Regions from separate parts of the Homo sapiens genome. Here region 2 is linked to region 1. Evidence: promoter capture Hi-C in human tissues and cell types (Jung and others, 2019). All regions are on one chromosome and are shown on one strand. The core of a region is centred on a gene start or on the middle of the fragment in contact, and the rest is flanking DNA. Distances in the headings are between cores, read along the strand shown. Region 1 holds the start of SUDS3 (SIN3A corepressor complex component SDS3). Region 2 overlaps CCDC60 (coiled-coil domain containing 60).

What was found. Contacts are between HindIII fragments. The study calls those that stand out against the background at their distance.
Region 2: a fragment that was not itself captured here is called in contact with the fragment with the promoter of SUDS3 in region 1 in 1 of the 25 tissues and cell types used here (dorsolateral prefrontal cortex).

What each region holds. Positions count from the first base shown.
Region 1 is chr12:118,375,125-118,378,143 of GRCh38, reverse strand. SUDS3 (SIN3A corepressor complex component SDS3) reads right to left here and starts at 1,589. Exons shown (of 12, transcript NM_022491.3): 1 at 1,311-1,589. The coding sequence starts at 1,452. LOC124903031 (a long non-coding RNA gene) reads left to right here and starts at 2,017. Exons shown (of 2, transcript XR_007063480.1): 1 at 2,017-2,188; 2 at 2,353-2,846. RefSeq lists silencers at 1,193-1,342, 1,373-1,592 and an enhancer at 1,034-1,534. The HindIII fragment of the contact is 10,741 bases long and covers 1-3,019 here.
Region 2 is chr12:119,477,692-119,480,868 of GRCh38, reverse strand. It overlaps CCDC60 (coiled-coil domain containing 60), which reads right to left. Exons shown (of 14, transcript NM_178499.5): 4 at 1,668-1,775. The region is part of intron 2 of PRKAB1-AS1 (PRKAB1, TMEM233 and CCDC60 antisense RNA 1); the gene reads left to right. Among named protein-coding and RNA genes, the nearest start is that of TMEM233, 110 kb to the left of the region's middle. The HindIII fragment of the contact is 3,028 bases long and covers 72-3,099 here.

The DNA of each region.
Region 1 (3,019 bases), core at 340-2,839:
TTTTAATAGCCCCTATACTGGAAGGAAAAAAAAACTCAATTTTGGCTCCACAGCGCCCCCTCGTGGGTATGAGATGAAGTGCAAGTGCTTCACATTCAAAATCTCTGGTTAAGCCGTGTCTTCTGATGGAATTAAATCGAATGCAGTCCCTCAACTTTGTATGTCATGCATATGCAGCTGTCTTTTGTAAGGCTGTTGCAGATCCAATTCCCCACAAACCCTTCTCCCCTCCTTCAGTCAAGAGGCCTTCCCTGAGTTCCTGTCATGGTCAGCCACATTACTTGGCACTCGGGAAACTCAGATGAATAAAACGTAGGCCCCATTCCAAACAGCTGGTCTAGCTTTTGCTCCACGGCCCGATTTTGTCCCAGAATATTCCGCTCATATATCGGTCTCTCTTTGTTTCCTATTTCTCCTCCCTTGATCTCTCACATTTCATCACCTTCCTCCTCCTCCATCCCTCCAAAATAGCGTTCCTCACACTTGCCAAATTATAAAGCCCAGTTTGAAAAGCAAGGCTCTGAGACTCTGTGATGACAGTGCAAAGAGCGTGGGACTGAAAACACAACACCTGGGGACCATTAAGCAAATCTCTCCCTCTCTTACCTGTTTCCGGGAGGGGGGCGGGTGGGGAGAACATTTACGGAGTATTTACAGTACCAGGCCAAGTACTTTATGCGCATGTCATTTAATCCCTATACCGACCCTAGGAAGTGCCTTCTAGGGCAGGTGTGGGAATTAAACAGCTCCATTACAGTTGGGTAAATCGAGGCTGGAAAACTTAAGTTTACAAAGCTGAGTTAAGTGACAAAGCCAAATTTAAACCTGTATCTGGCTGGTTCTAGGTCCCTTTCCTTTAACCAACCTGAGTTCTCAATAGTGTACTACCTAAAGTATAGATGACTTATGCATTTCGGGGGTGGGGAGGGGCAACTTTGGACTCTGATGCTCTCACACACAAAAAAGGGGCGAACTACACTCGATGTATTCAGTAAATGAGTTTCTAATTCCTACTAGTGAGTGAGGTTCAATCAGAAACGGCTGGGAGGGAGGACGGGGTCTTAAAGGGACCCCCAGCGTGACAACATCTAAGTCCCCTCTCCCCATCACGGTCGAGTGTAACGCACCCAGGGCTTCCCCGCTACTCCAGCACGGATGGGGGTAACTTCCCCGAGCCCCGCAACTCCCGGCGGCCCCTCCACGCAGCCCCAGGCCCCGGAGGCCGCCCCGCCCCTCTCCCGAACAGCCCCACCCCCTCCCCCAGCGGTCCCACCTCCGCTCCGGGCGGCCGGGCGAGCGGCAGGACTCACCTTCGTCCGACTCGCGGCCCCGACAGCTGCGCTCGTCGTCCTCGGCGCTCTCCAGCTCTTCATCCTCCTCGGGGTAGTACTCGGGGGCCGGCGGCGCTCCAGCCTGGGCCGGGGCCGGGGCCAGCAGCCCCGCGGCACTCATGTCGCCTCTGACCGCAGCTGAGCGTGGCCCACGGACACCGCGGCCACCCGCGCTCGGTACTCGCCGTCTGCCTAGCAGTGTCCGCGGCAGCCCCCAACTCGAGGACCGGCAGCCACGGCGACCCCTTCCCCGTCTCCGCCGAGCTCCGCCCCCCGCGCCCGCGCTCGGCAACGGGGGCCTCGCGCCGCGAGCGACTTCCGGGTCGAGAGCTGCCCGACAACGGCCTGATTCCGCCATCCTTGGGGGAGTGGAGATGCCGCTGGACGCCCCCGTCGCCACAACCTCAGCCCTTTCATCGCCGTCTTAAAATCCTCAACGTATAGTGGGGGAGGGGCGGAGCCAGGTTCGCTAGAGTCAGGCAAATCTACGGGCAGGCCCAGCAGCGGTCAGGACCCCGAGGCTCGCAGGCGACTTCCGGAGACAGCCGCCAGGCGGCGCCTGGAGCTAGAACTAAAGCGGTGATCGTTAGCGACCTAGGGGCGGAGGGTTTGAAGGGCCCTTGGCAGGTGGAGGTGGTCTCTAATTTAAGCAGGGAACGACGCGACCTGCCCCCTTATTAGGTCGGAAAACCTAGACGTCCAGAGTGTGCGTGATCATGCAGCCTGGCTCCTCCTGTGACTAGTTAGAGCTTTATTAAGAGCTAAAAGACAAGGATGCTGATATTCCATCCTGGGGACAGCAAAATAGTATTTTCCCAGCCCTTAGGAATCCTTTCTGTTTGTGTAAGGTTTATTCGGTAAGATGTTCCCCCGGTTTTACAAATGAGAAACGAGCTGTCGTTTGCCTAAAAAAAAATAGTAACGTCCAGTCTGATTTTTTAGACTCCGAGACCCAGGCCCTCCGCGGTACAGCTGCCTTGAATATTAATTTTTTAAAAGGTGCTTTTGCTTAATCCAACAGCTTGCTCTGAGCTCTCAACTGAAGAAGGGGAGAATTTGCCTACCAGAAGTTATTTGGCTAAGGCCCACGTGGAAGCTTAAAAAACAGGAGAGCTGAGTATCTGCAAGAATTAATTTGTGCGATTCCCTCTGAGTAGAAAAGGAACACGGTGTTATAAGTTTTGCTGAACGAATAGATTTAAGGTGTCCCTTTAGCTAAGAGCAATGTGGTCTAGTTGTGTGTAGCGAGAAAAAAGGGTAAGGTTTTTAATGGTTTGTCCAAAGTAGCCCCACTTTTATGTTCCACCCGAGTCTCCGTAGGAAACGCAACCAGTAGTGAAAATGAACAGATGTGAAAACCAGGGTGGAACCGAATATTCCCATTCTCAGACCTTTTGTGATTAAATTTATCTCTGAATTGTTCCCTATGGACTCTTCTGAAAATGAAACGTTATTCTCATCCCACTTATTTTGACATTTATTTACTACCTTGTTTTAATTAAAATCTTGGCTCTATTTGTAAGTGATTTTTTCTCCCAACAAAACTAAAGAATTTCCAGAATGGAATGCTAAGATGTCTTTCCAGGAGTTCTGAGATCTTCTGAAGCCCCTTCTAAATAAGAATCATTCTCAGATCGCACCGTAGGTCTGCCATCTATATTTAAACTAGGATTCCAGAACTGTCTCTT
Region 2 (3,177 bases), core at 336-2,835, 1.1 Mb before region 1:
TGATGATGACAGTGATGATGGTGGTGAGGATGATGGTGGTGATGATGGTGGTGAGGATGATGGTGACGATGGTGGTGATGATGATGGTGATGATGATGGTGATGATGATGATGGTGAGGATGATGGTGATGATGATGGTGGTGATGATGGTGGTGGTGAGGATGATGGTGATGATAATGGTGGTGAGGATGATGGTGATGATGATGATGCTGGTGATGATGATGGTGATAATGATGGTGATGGTGATGATGATGATGATGGTGATGGTGATGATGGTGATGAGGATGATGGTGATGATGATGATGGTGTTGGTGATGGTTTTTGCATCTTCCATTCATGAACTAAGTACTCTTATTAGTGATTTTCTTTTGTTTGCCATCTTATCCTATGATTTCACTCTTGTATTCTTTTACTCTTCAAGTATAGGAAACTTGGCTTGCCAAATATATTATGAGCTCCTTAAAGACAAGGCTTTGGGATATATGTTCTATGTAGTGTGTGGTGATGAAAGCTTGGGCTTTGCAGTCAGACCGACCTGACTCAGCAACACACTGACCTCTGTGACCCTGAATAGGTGAGTTTATGTCTCTGAGCTTCTGCTTTCCCATCTGCAGAGAGGGGATAATGATACACCTACACAACAGGGAGGCTGAGAGGACTGAGTGAGATAATGCTACAGAGTGATGAGGAGTGGCCATTATCACTGTGAACACTGTAGAAGCCTAATAAATATTTGACAAATGAGCAGACAGAGAAGTCTGGAATCATTGTATCACAGCTCTAAATGAATCCATTGCCCTAAAGCAGTGGTTCTCAATGTGGAGTGTGTGTGTGTGTGTGTGTGTGTGTGTGTGTGTGTGTGTGTGTGTGTGTATGATGTACGGTGGGGGCTCATGCACTTTTGCTCCCAGGGGACATTTGGTAATGTCTGGAGACATTTTTGGTTGTCAACACTGGTATCTAGTGGGTAGAGGCCATGGATGCGGCTAAACATCCTACAATACACAGGACAGCCTTTCACAACAAAGAATTAATTATTTCTCTCAAAATGTCAGCGGTGTCAAGGCTGAAAAACCCTGCCCTAAAGTCAGAAGCTTGTATCCCTGTGCCTGAAATCTTCCAGCTGAAAAGTGCTAACTGGTGAAAAAGAAAAAGTTGGGCTTGAGATTTGGAATAGACACAAGGGGAACAAGACATCAAGACTTTAGAAAGCAAGAGTGTTCTTTGGAAGGTTGATTAGTTCCTGTTGCACCACACAATGATGAGTTCATGCCTCAGGTCAGAAAACTGGATGGGCTTCTCTGGGAAACAGCTCCTTGAGTCTTGGGGAAAACATGCCCCTGAGCACAGGCTGAGATGTTCTCGCACACACTCGATGAGGGCTGTAGACAGATTTTATCAGGCTTTGCAAACTATTTGACATTAGAGCGTCTGGCTTGGCAAGAAATGAAATGACTCAGTCCCAGCTGATTTGCCACTTAGCTGTAAACCACTGTGTCTACTTTCTGTTATTTTTATATGCCAAATAGCTTTGCCAGCTCCAGGCTCCATGTCCCTTTCAAGAGGACAAAGGAACAGCTACTGACATGACAGCTCGTTGAGTCATTTCAGTTCGGCTTCAATTTATAAGCTAGCAAAGCAAATGAGCTGGAGGTGAGACTACTTACACGTGAGCCTCGGTTAGCGAGGGAGAAATGATGCAGCTGTGGATGGGAGTGAATGGGCGACGTGTGACTCTAGCTCCCAGTGTCTTCAACTTCTCATCATCATATGTGCTGAAGGACAAGCAGACAGAGAAACAATGTGAACAATGAGCAGTAGCTTTGAACACCTTCTTCTCTTGCCACGGTCTATTCGGCAGATATGACTGGACACTTACTATGTATCAGGCAAATAATTTCTGCTGGAGGGATGAGGGTTTCAGATGCAGTTCCTTAACAAAGCATATAAAAGTCCCTGCCCTCGGTCGGGTGCCGTGGCTCATGCCTGTAATCCCAGCACTTTGGGAGGCCGAGGCGGGTGGATCACAAGGTCAGGAGATCAAGACCATCCTGGCTAACACGGTGAAACCCTGTCTCTACTAAAAATACAAAAACAGCTGGGCGTGGTGGCAAGTGCCTGTAGTCCCAGCTACTCGGGAGGCTGAGGCAGGAGAATCTCTTGAACCCGGGAGGCAGAGGTTGCAGTGAGCTGAGATCGTGCCATTGCACTCCAGCCTGGGTGACAGAGTGAGACTCCGTCTCAAAAAAAAAAAAAAAAAAAAAAGTCCCTGCCTTATGGAGTATATAATCTCTAGAAGAGCCAAGAGAATAAACAAGATAAATCATGCGGCATACTAGTATATTATACTAGGGTTGGAAATGTTTGCTTCAAGGGCCAGACAAGGTATATTTTCAGCTGTGTTCTGGAAACAGCAATTTAATACCATATTTAGGTGTTTTTTCTTTCACCATTACAGCAGAGCAAATCATTTCCGTTATAGAAAATAGGATTTTTTTTGGGGGGGGGTGGTTGTTGTCATGCTTGAGTCATATGATATATATAGTTTGTTTGTTTGAGACAGAATCTCACTGTCACCCAGGCTGGAGTGCAGTGGCGTGATCTTGGCTCACTGCAACCTCTGCCTCCTAGGTTCAAGCAATTCTCGTGCCTCAGCCTCCCGAGTAGCTGGGATTACAGGCATGTGCCACCATGCCTGGCTACTTTTTTGTATTTTAAGTAGAGATGGGGTTTTGCTATGTTGGCCAGGCTGGTCTTGAACTCCTGTCCTCAAGTGATCCACCTGCCTTGGCCTCCCAAAGTGCTGGGATTACAGGCGTGAGACATTGCACCTGGCTGTGGGGTATATATTTTTCTGTCCATGGCCAAATTCAGCCCACAGATATATTTTAATTAATCCACTCTCTTTTTCTCTCTCTTTCTCTCTCTCTCTCCTCTCTCTCTCTGTGAGTGTGTGTGTGTGTGCGTGTGTGCAATTGAATCAATTGTCTGTATTTTAAAATTGGGAGATGTCACATAAAAATGAAAAAACTTTGGCCTTCAAAAAATTGAAAGCTCTGGCCACTCGGGACCTGTGTTTCTACACAAGAATGATGGGCCACAGACTGCTTTGAATGAGGTGTGTGCTTCTTCAGTTACCCCAAACACAAGCATCCCTGTTCTCACTCTCTGCCTTTC